Linked DNA regions of Homo sapiens: regions 1 and 3 are each linked to region 2. Evidence: promoter capture Hi-C in 16 types of primary human blood cells and fetal thymus (Javierre and others, 2016). All regions are on one chromosome and are shown on one strand. Each heading gives the region's core, a stretch centred on a gene start or on the middle of the fragment in contact. The rest is flanking DNA. Distances are from core to core; before and after follow the strand shown. Region 1 has its middle 11 kb from the start of PSMB5. Region 2 holds the start of TSSK4 (testis specific serine kinase 4). Region 3 overlaps RBM23 (RNA binding motif protein 23).

Evidence for each region. Contacts are between HindIII fragments. The CHiCAGO score rates a contact against its expected background, and 5 or more counts as called.
Region 1: a contact is called between a fragment that was not itself captured here and the fragment with the promoter of TSSK4 in region 2, in 1 of 17 cell types (total B cells). The highest score is 5.3, in total B cells.
Region 3: a fragment that was not itself captured here is called in contact with the fragment with the promoter of TSSK4 in region 2 in 1 of 17 cell types (activated CD4 T cells); the score reaches 6.2 in activated CD4 T cells.

The regions. Positions count from the first base shown.
Region 1 is chr14:23,022,201-23,025,608 of GRCh38, forward strand. No RefSeq gene overlaps it. Among named protein-coding and RNA genes, the nearest start is that of PSMB5, 11 kb to the right of the region's middle. RefSeq lists an enhancer at 2,917-3,006. The HindIII fragment of the contact is 3,160 bases long and covers 49-3,208 here.
Region 2 is chr14:24,203,827-24,207,027 of GRCh38, forward strand. It overlaps TSSK4 (testis specific serine kinase 4), which reads left to right and starts at 1,870. Exons shown (of 4, transcript NM_001184739.2): 1 at 1,870-2,322; 2 at 2,683-2,897. The coding sequence starts at 2,098. RefSeq lists an enhancer at 1-401. The HindIII fragment of the contact is 3,453 bases long and covers 1,151-3,201 here.
Region 3 is chr14:22,889,911-22,893,327 of GRCh38, forward strand. It overlaps RBM23 (RNA binding motif protein 23), which reads right to left. Exons shown (of 14, transcript NM_001077351.2): 14 at 3,294-3,417. Among named protein-coding and RNA genes, the nearest start is that of REM2, 8.4 kb to the left of the region's middle. The HindIII fragment of the contact is 1,862 bases long and covers 758-2,619 here.

The sequences.
Region 1 (3,408 bases), core at 379-2,878, 1.2 Mb before region 2:
TAAAGAGTTAAATACCAGCTTAAGCTTGGCACCTAACTCAGAGGCAAAAGCTTCTGGGAGAAATGAGTTGGGTCAAATAAGCCCAAGAAGCTGACGTGGGTAGAATTTCTTCTGCTTGACCCACTAACAACTGCAAAGGGGACATTTTAGAAATGTTTTTTATTGAAATGCTTCAGTGGGGGCAGAGCTCCTGGAAACCAGAACTTGGCTCTGAAGCCACGCCTGGGGAGCACGGGAGGCTGACTTGGGGGGAAAAAGAGGGGTGGCCCAGGTCAGGTAGAAGGTGGCAGCAGCTGCTGATCAGGGCAGTTCTGATTGCTGTTTGAGCTCCCTCTTGCCCACTATAATTAAAGCATTCCCAGTATGATTCTGGCTTCCTGAAGGGAAACTAGAATTTATAAAAACAAACAAGAAACAAACGCAAAACAGCAGAGGTGCTTGGTTGCAATATATGTATATTTTAAATTATAGAGCACTGCTCTATACTCCATACAGTTTCAAAGTCCGTATCTGTTATAGCCCTGGGAGCAGGTCAGGGGAAGATCTAACAAAAGAAACAAAAATAAAAGAAAATTAAAAACCTAAATGTATCCACCGAAAATTAGATATGGTCATGTAGATTCTCTCCTAACCCAATCATCCTATCCTTGTTACTCCTGACACAAGGGAAATGCTCCCCTCAAAATTTCCATCCACCTTTTTTTTTCTACTTTATTCTCTTTTCATCCCACCTCTTTCTTCCTTCCCCTAACAGACCACATAGAATCCGTGGGCCAGAATAAATCAGTTATTTTATTTCCCCTCGGAGGATGTGACCTTCCACTCCCCAAATGGCTCTGACAGTTTTCTCATTTGCTAGCTGAGGAGGATATCAAGAGACACTGACCTTCTGGTTTTGCCTAAAGAGGAACACTCAGTAACTATTATCCTTCAGTCTTTGATTTGCGTTAACTGTGCCCTTCCTCCCTCCTCCCCCACATCCTCACCTACCTTTTCACCTTCCTTCATGAACATTCTACTCACCCCACAGTGCACTGCTACTCCCCACAGCCCTCCCTTGCCTGGTGTGCAGATGCTGGAAGGCTAGCAAGAGAAAGCAAGGGGCCTCCAGGAGTATTTGCTCCCTATTTAATCAGATTAGTCCCATCACCTACCCCGAGGAGCCAGATTTTGGTGTTACTGAGTTATCTGTTGAGGGAAGAGAAGTTGTCAGACATCACTTAAAGAGCCCAGTCCCTTGGACGCCTGGGAACTGCTGAGAGAAATTAATCTTCCAGCTATTTAAGGCGATTTCTTTTCCATCATCCTTTGTCAAGAGGACTGTACTGGGAAATGAATCTGATGGGAGTCCCTGAACTGGTACACTCCACTCAAAAACATCTCTCCAATCCTATGCGGCATCCATCATTCCCACACAAGCGGAGACACACATCGCTGCAAAGCCAATTTCCCCCCAGTAACCATCAGCAAGAAATCACAAATGCACAGGGTGGATACCACTAGCCTACAGACTTGCAGTTTTTCCCTACCTCTGCTCTACTTTCTTCCCAGAAAAACCTACCACAAATCGAGCTCTTCCATTAAATGAGTCTTTTACCCAAGACCCAGGAAGGTAGATCAACAGGGATATGCCAGAACAGAACATGCATTTTCTCTTCTAACATAAGGACTCTGCCAGTGCAGAATAGGTGTTTCCGTTAAACAGCTAAACCACTGCCAAAGCAAAGTGTGAGACAGAAACAGGGCAAAGGGTTGCATTGTTTCACGATCATCTCTTCTCTCCAGAATGAATTTTCTGTTCATGGACCAAAGCTGGGGTCTTATGCTCTCTGGGGTCATGTAAGGAAATTCCAATCTTCAATTCTCTTTCTATCCTTAAGGCTATTTCCCAGGGAAGAGGTGTTCAAATTGTGTTCCTTGAGGTTCCAAGAAGTGCCAGGGACTGTGTATGTGTATGGGGCTAACAAAGGGTGCTGCGGGGAGTGGCTGGATGGGGAAGCTCAATAGTGGAGGCTCTGGACCTCTCAGCTCAATTTCAACCTCTGATTTTTTTTTCAGGCATTGGGATTTCTCCTAAGAGTGCTTTTTTTTTTTTCTTTTTTTTTTTTAAGATCTGCAAACCAATGTCCTAAGTGGGAGGAAGATGACCTACCTGTGCTTCTCACGCAGCTAACCATTTCCCAACAGTCTACGAGAAGGAAGATGTAGCTTGGGTCCTGCCTATTTCTTTCTTTCTTTTTTTTTTTAGATGGAGTTTTGCTTTTGTTGCCCAGGCTGGAGTGCAATGGCACCATCTCGGCTCACTGCAACCTCTGCCTCAGCCTCCCAAGTAGCTGGGATTACAGGTGCCTGCCACCACACCCAGCTAATTTTTCGTATTTTTAGTAGAGACAGGTTTCACCATGTTGGCCAGACTGGTCTCAAACTCCTGGCATCAAGTGATCTGCCTGCCTCCGTCTCCCAAAGTGCTGGTGCTGGGATTACAAGCCTGAGCCACTGTGCCCCGCCCAGCTCCTGCCTATTTCAACCATGTAGTCTGAGTCCACACCAGCAGCTCCCTGACTGCAGGGGCTCCTGAGATACTTTCCTGCAAAAAATTTCCTTAGGCACGAGTCATTTGTTTTCCAAACCCCCTTCTCCGATTTCACTAATTCCCAATTTCCCTGCATTTGACAAATGCAATTAACAAGCCTCGATCAGTTCCTGGCCGACAGCCCTCATCAATCAATACGAAGACTGCACAAGGCTGAGGGGGAAGGGAAGGTAGCTGCAGTACAGGAGAGGAGGGTTTACCCCCTCTTCTTCTGTGAATGACTTCTCCAAACCTCTCAGTCTCAAAACATGACACTGGGTTGTCACCTTCACCAACCACTTTCTGCCTTCTGACTAAATACAAGGTGGTATTGTTTGTGTCCTCCGCTCCCATTTTTTAAAGGTTTCTCCCATCAACCTCCTCTATCCCCTGTCTTCTCTTTAACAGAAGGCCTTGCCATCTGCTGCCACCATAGCTTGGGAACTCCCCCCAGCCCCAACAGTGCTGGGTGTGATAAATCAGCCATCTCTCTGCTCTCAGCAGGGCCTCTTCCCCACCCACACATTCCAGTGACAATTTAGTGCTGCTTCCTGACCAGGAGGCTATAAAATCACCATCACTACCCTCTCCCCTCCACACATATGCACTGGAGGACCAAAAGGACAAGGGTCACCAAGCTTGTGGTTACTACTGCTTTCACAGCCACTTCTTTGTCCTCCCCTTCCCAGGGTCCAAGCCTTCCCTTCCCAGTTGGTTTAAGAGTCAAGATTTACCCTCTTCACCCTTCCGCTCTGCATGTAGCCTCAGCCTCCCTTCCCCCACCACAGGGTGACAGCCTTTTCCGCTGGAGCCCTGCCTGGTACAGCCCTGTGCAT
Region 2 (3,201 bases), core at 620-3,119:
GGGCAGATCACCTGAGGTCGGGAGTTCAAGACCTGCCTGACCAACATGGAGAAACCCTGTCTCTACTAAACATACAAAATAGCTAGGCATGGTGGTGCATGTCTGTAATCCTAGCTACTAGGGAGGGTGAGGCAGGAGAATCGCTTGAACCCAGGAGTTGGAGGTTGTAGTGAGCCAAGATCGTGCCATTGCACTCCAGCCTGGGCAACAAGAGCGAAACTCCATCTCAAAAAAAAAAAAAGAGAAAAAAGGTCCTATGCCAAGTTCTCAAGGAAGATTTGGAGTTTGCCACAAATACAGAAAAGCAGTTGTGGATCATTACGTGTGTGTTAAAAAATAAAATTGGGGAGGTAAGCAGGATCAGACTTAAAGCTGTGTGAAAGAATTTGGATGGACTTGATCCTAAAGAGAATGGGGAGACACTGAATTGTTTCAAATGGAAATAAAATCAGATTTATGCTTTGGACTTGGGATGGACAGACTGGAGTGGAGCAGAAGGCTGGCGGGGGCCATCTGTTCGATGATGGAGGCGTGAACTAAGGGATTAGCAGTGGGCTCAGAAAACCATGAGAATATTATCAAAGAGAGAATCAGGAGGTATAAGAGATAGGATTTCGTGATAGATTGAATGTAGGGACTGAGGCAGGAGGGTCTGGGATGACATATGAGTGTCTAAATTAAGGGTGATTAGTGTACAACTCACAGAAAAGTCTGAGAGAAGAAAATAAGTTCAATTATTGATATGGTTAAGTTTGAGATGGATATGGTAAGTTCCATGCCTGGGGCAGACATGGCCACGTAATACTGGCTGCTCTATCTAAACTCCAGATATATGGGATGGAGATGAAATTAGGAGCAGTCAGCATAAATGTAGTATTGACACCATGGGTATGGACAAGATTAAGGGAGGATGTGAAGGTTTGAGAAAATAAAGCTTGTGATGTAACACTTGGGATATGATTAAGGGATGGATAGAGAAAGATATAACTTCAGTGAAGGCTGAGGAGTGACCAGAAGGATGTGGAGGAAAACTAGAGAGTTCTGGCTCATAGAAGATAAGGATGCATTTCAAGGTTAGATTTTCCTAGAACATGTTCAATACCTTACAATGGTAATACTTTCACACTCGTATTTCTCATGCTGCATTATAAGCTTTAGGATCATAGTGTCTCTATTGGCCTTATTGAACTAAGGGGGCTGCAATGGGCTCGGAAAGCCTTGAGTGTATCATTAAAGAGATAAGTAGGAGATAGCAGAGACAGGATTTGATGAAAGATTGTATGTAGGGATTGAGGAAGGAGGAAGGGTCTGGCATGACATTTGGGTGACATTTTATCCAAGTATTCAGCACAGTGTCTGGTACTTAGTAGGTACTCATATATCAATGAAAGGTCTGATCTTTAGGAGTTTCACCAGACTGTGGAAGGTGCCTCTGGGAATGAGTACGTTTCCAACTGCACTTCATTCTCTTTTTTTTTTTTTTTTTTTTTGAGACGGAGTCTCGCTCTGTCGCCCAGGCTGGAGTGCAGTGGCGCAATCTCGGCTCACTGCAAGCTCTGCCTCCCAGGTTCACGCCATTCTCCTGCCTCAGCCTCCCAAGTAGCTGGGACTACAGGCGCCCGCCACTACGCCCGGCTAATTTTTTGTATTTTTAGTAGAGACGGGGTTTCACCGTTTTAGCCGGGATGGTCTCGATCTCCTGACCTCGTGATCCGCCCGCCTCGGCCTCCCAAAGTGCTGGGATTACAGGCGTGAGCCACCGCGCCCGGCCGCACTTCATTCTCAAGTTTTGTGGCCAACGATGGATAGGAGGTGGATTGTGATGTATTCGGAACATGGGACCTTGAGGAGTTCCGTAACCAAAAGGAGAAAGTAACAACAGCCAGTGGAGACAAAAAGAACTGCTTCTCTTTCTTTCCCCCTCCAAGTTCCTAGTGGAGGGCTGAGTCCAGCATCCCAGACTCGTGTGACTATATAGGCAAGCATTTGGGGACCTACTTCACTTTGATACCCTAGCCTTCAGCAGCTCAAGGTGTTGGCCTTTGGATAGGAGGCTTCCAAGTAGTAAAGCTCCCTGCTCTCAGCAAGCCCAACACCATGGGGAAGGGAGATGTCTTAGAGGCAGCACCAACCACCACAGCCTACCATTCCCTCATGGATGAATATGGTTATGAGGTGGGCAAGGCCATTGGCCATGGCTCCTATGGGTCGGTATATGAGGCTTTCTACACAAAGCAGAAGGTTATGGTGGCAGTCAAGATCATCTCAAAGAAGAAGGCCTCTGATGACTATCTTAACAAGTTCCTGCCCCGTGAAATACAGGTTGGAAAGGGGGCTGGAAGAGGGAACTGGAGCTTGGTACTAAGCTGCTTGAGGTTTCTCAGAAGGGGTATGGCCAGGAGGGGTGGGGCCAGAAACCCCTAAACCAGAACTGAAATGTCTCACTAAGCAGCTAGGAAACTTTATGTAAGTTAAACCTCTTTCCCATCCACCCACTCACCTTCAGTCCCCAAAAAGTAAAGGCACAAAACATAGCATTTGCCCACAGGCCACCAGTTCTCTGGGGTTGAGGGGCTGATCCTATTGCAAAGTCCTAAGTCAGTAGCTGAGGGTAGGAGACGGCTGGGAGTGCAGTCAGGGTTCTCCCTTCCCAGGTTTGATGGGTCCTTCTTCTGGGGTCAGGTAATGAAAGTCTTGCGGCACAAGTACCTCATCAACTTCTATCGGGCCATTGAGAGCACATCTCGAGTATACATCATTCTGGAACTGGCTCAGGGTGGTGATGTCCTTGAATGGATCCAGCGCTACGGGGCCTGCTCTGAGCCCCTTGCTGGCAAGTGGTTCTCCCAGCTGACCCTGGGCATTGCCTACCTGCACAGCAAGAGCATCGTGCACCGGTGAGGGCGCTGCCACCCAGACTGGGGCCTTTGCCCTCAAGGGGGTTTTATGCACATCTCCCATTTCCTGTCCTTTTTTCCTCTTTCGAACTCCCTCCTCAATATCTAGCCTATTCATGCACTCTATTTTAATCATATGGTCAAGGATACTGATAAAGTACTCACTGTATGCAAAGCATTTTATGAAATACAATGGTGAGCTCCCGGTGGTCCTCAGATACCATCCTCTGTCTCTCTCCCTACTTTGGGCTCTGCTCACAACTCCATGGCTTTCCTTCCTCTCTACCTTGTGCCCTCATAATGG
Region 3 (3,417 bases), core at 439-2,938, 1.3 Mb before region 2:
CAAGTTCTAAATTCTGAAGACCATGAACAGAGGCAGCTCAAATTTTAAAACACAGGAAAACACACTGGGCCCATTAAGGGACCAGATGGCTGTACAGTTGGGTTGAAACCTCAGGGACATGAAGAGGAGGGGTAAGAGATGAGCATGGAAAAGAAGGTTTGGAGTCCCACTGTAAAGGACCTTAAATGCCAGGAAAAAGAGTTTGTGCCCAACTCTGTAGGCAGGGAGAGTCACTGCAGGTATCTGAATGTGGAAGTCATGATTAGGATGGTCTTTTGGGAAGAGGAGGCTGGGAGAGGTGTGTATGGATTGGAGCTGCAGAGGCAAGTACTGAGGAGCTGAGTTTAGGGACCAGTTAATAGTGATACATACAGAGGATAATGAAAGGCCATCCTGAGGGGGGTGGCAGTGGGAAAGGAAGGAGGCATGGGTTTGAGCATCAGAATCAATGGGACTTGGCAACTTAGTGGATGAGTATAAAGAGAGGAAAAAGTTGTAGGTGGTGAGAGGATGGTGCAGAACTTGGAGTAAAGGGGCAGAGGAGGTAGTGAGAGTAAGGAGCTCCATTTTGGAGACACTGAATTTGAGATGCTAGAAGAACATCTATATAGAGTTTCAGCAGCTCTCTAGAGTTGAATCTGAATCTGAAATTCAGAACAAGTTGGGACAAGAGAAACAGATTTGAGAATAATTACCATAAAGATAGTAGTAGAAGAGCAAGGAGAAAAGGTGACCTGTGCAGTCACATAGGGCCCTAAGCTTAGTTTAATGTTCTGCTGTTATGTTCTTAAAATTCTTCGAACAAGGAGCCCTGTATTTTCATTTTGCAAGGGGATCCACAATTATACTAAGGGAGAAGGTGCAGTACAGGCTGGGATCCTTACCCCAGACTACTGATGGAGTCTGCGTCTTGTGAAATGGTACATACAATCTGATGTATTTGTGTAGTCATACCTGTGTCTGAGAATAGGGTTCATGAATTTCATCAGATTCACAAAAGGGTTTGTTACAGGCCAGGCACAGGATGGCTCATGCCTGTAATCCCAGCACTTTGAGAGGCCGAGGCGGGTAGATCACCTGAGGTCAGGAGTTCGAGACCAGCCTGGCCAACATGACGAAACCCCATCTCTACTAAAAATACAAAAATTAGCTGGGCATGGTGGCACATGCCTGTAATCCCAGCTACTTGGGAGGCTGAGGCAGGAGAATTGTTTGAACCCAGGAGGTGGAGGTTGCAGTGAGCCGAGATCGTGCCACTGTACTCCAGCCTGGGCAACAGAGTGAGATTCTGTCAAAAAAAAAAAAAAAAAAAAAAAAGATGGTACTGGCTGCTTCTGGAAAGGGGAACTGGGTGAGTAGAAGACCAGGATGGGAAGCTGACTTTTCATTGTATGCCCTTTTTCTTTTCTTTTCTTTTCTTTTTTGAGACGGAGTTTCACTCTTGTTGCCCAGGCTGGAGTGCAATGGCACGATCTCACTGTAACCTCCGCCTCCTGGGTTCAAGCGATTCTCCTGCCTCAGCCTCCCGAGTAGCTGGGATTACAGGCATGTGCCACCACACCCGGCCACTTTTGTATTTTTGGTAGAGATGGGGTTTCTCCATGTTGGTCAGGCTGGTCTCAAACTCCCAACCTCAGGTGATCCGCCTGCCTCAGCCTCCCAAAGTGCTGAGATTACAGGCCTGAGCCACCGCGTCCAGCCTGTATGCCCTTTTTCTACCTTTGGAAATTTTTTTTTTTTTTTTTGAGACAGAGTCTTGCTCTGTTGCCCAGGCTGGAGTGCAGTGTGGCACAATCTCAGCTCACTGCAAACTCCACCTCCTGGGTTCAAGCGATTCTCCTGCCTCAGTCTCCCGAGTAGCTGGGATTACAGGTGCCCACCACCACGCCCAGCTAATTTTTGTATTTTTAGTAGAGACGGGGGTTTCACCATCTTGGCCAGGCTAGTCTTGAACTCCTGACCTCATGATCCACCCACCTCAGCCTCCCAAAGTGCTGGGATTACAGGCGTGAGCCACCGCGCCTGGCCTACCTTTGGAACTTTTAACTGTGTCATTTAGTACCACTTCAAAAATGAAACGAAATAGGCCGGGCACAGTGGTTCACGCCTGTAATCCCAGCACTTTGGGAGGCCAAGGCCGGTGGATCATGAGGTCAGGAGTTCAAGACCAGCCTGGCCAAGATAGCGAAACCCCATCTCTACTAAAAACTACAAAAATTAATCAGGCGCAGGGGTGGGCACCTGTAATCCCAGCTATTCGGGAGGCTGAATCGCTTGAACCTGGGTGGCAGAGGTTGCAGTGAGCTGAGATCATGCCACTGCACTCCAGCCTGGCGACAGAGAGAGACTCCGTCTCAAAAAAAAAAAAAGAAAGAAACAAAATAATTTAAAACAAAGCCTTAGGGGTCCAGAGAAAGAAGAGGGAACAAGGAGATCCTGGGGATATATAGATGGAGAAGGTGGAGAAGCAGCTGCCAAAGAGGTAGTGGGAGAACTAGGATTGAGCCTGTTGTGACTGCTGCCAGAGGAGGGGTTTCTAGGAGAGTATCACCAATGGTCAGATGTGGCCAGAGAGGAGGATGAGGAACAAGAAAGGCCCAGTGCCTTTTACGTGGCAGAAGCTTAAAACATGTCTTTCGTGTATGGAAGACCATGATGGCAAGACCTCCCCCACGAGGGGAGCCACACACCATGAGCCTCCCTCCCCCAACTCAGCCAGTCCCATCAGCCCGACCCATCTGTGTGTTCCCTCCAGACGCCTACAGGGAATAGCTCAGAACAGACGGAAGCTGAAGCCAGGCTCCCGCCAGACTTGGGAGAGGTGAGGCCTTCTCTGAGAGCCAGGCCATTCTCTCTTTCTCTCTCAAGGCAAAGTAGAGCCATTGATCTTGGCTGGGGTGAGAGGTCAGCAGAGGGCACTGGGACCTGAGCTGCCATGCCAGGTAAGGTCCTTTCTGTCCTCATGCATCTCTTAACCACTGCAATTTTGTCTTGGAGTCCGTGTTCCCTTACCAGCCCCTGCCCAGCCCCTGCTACTCCCACTCCCCTTTGCCCACAAGACCGCCTCATTGGCCCAGAGCATAGACTTTGTGTGCTCTCCCCTGAGGGTCAGAGGAACGGGGGAGTCCTGCATCTGGAAATTTTTCCACTCTGGGCCTCTGCCTACAGATGAGCTTTTAGGCCGTGCTGCATCTGAGCCCTCTAGAGAGACTGGAACAGGGGCTCTTCTCTTCTGAAAGACTGCCGGGGTCATACGTGGAAGTCCTCTGGGTTAAACCCTCACTCCCAGGAAGTTCACACACACACATCTTTTTATTAATCTAATATAGTTTCAATCCACATCAATCTAAGTAAATTTTCCTGGACATTTTAATCTTTCATCCACAAATGCTAGAAGACATTTTGTTTCTCTCAAGT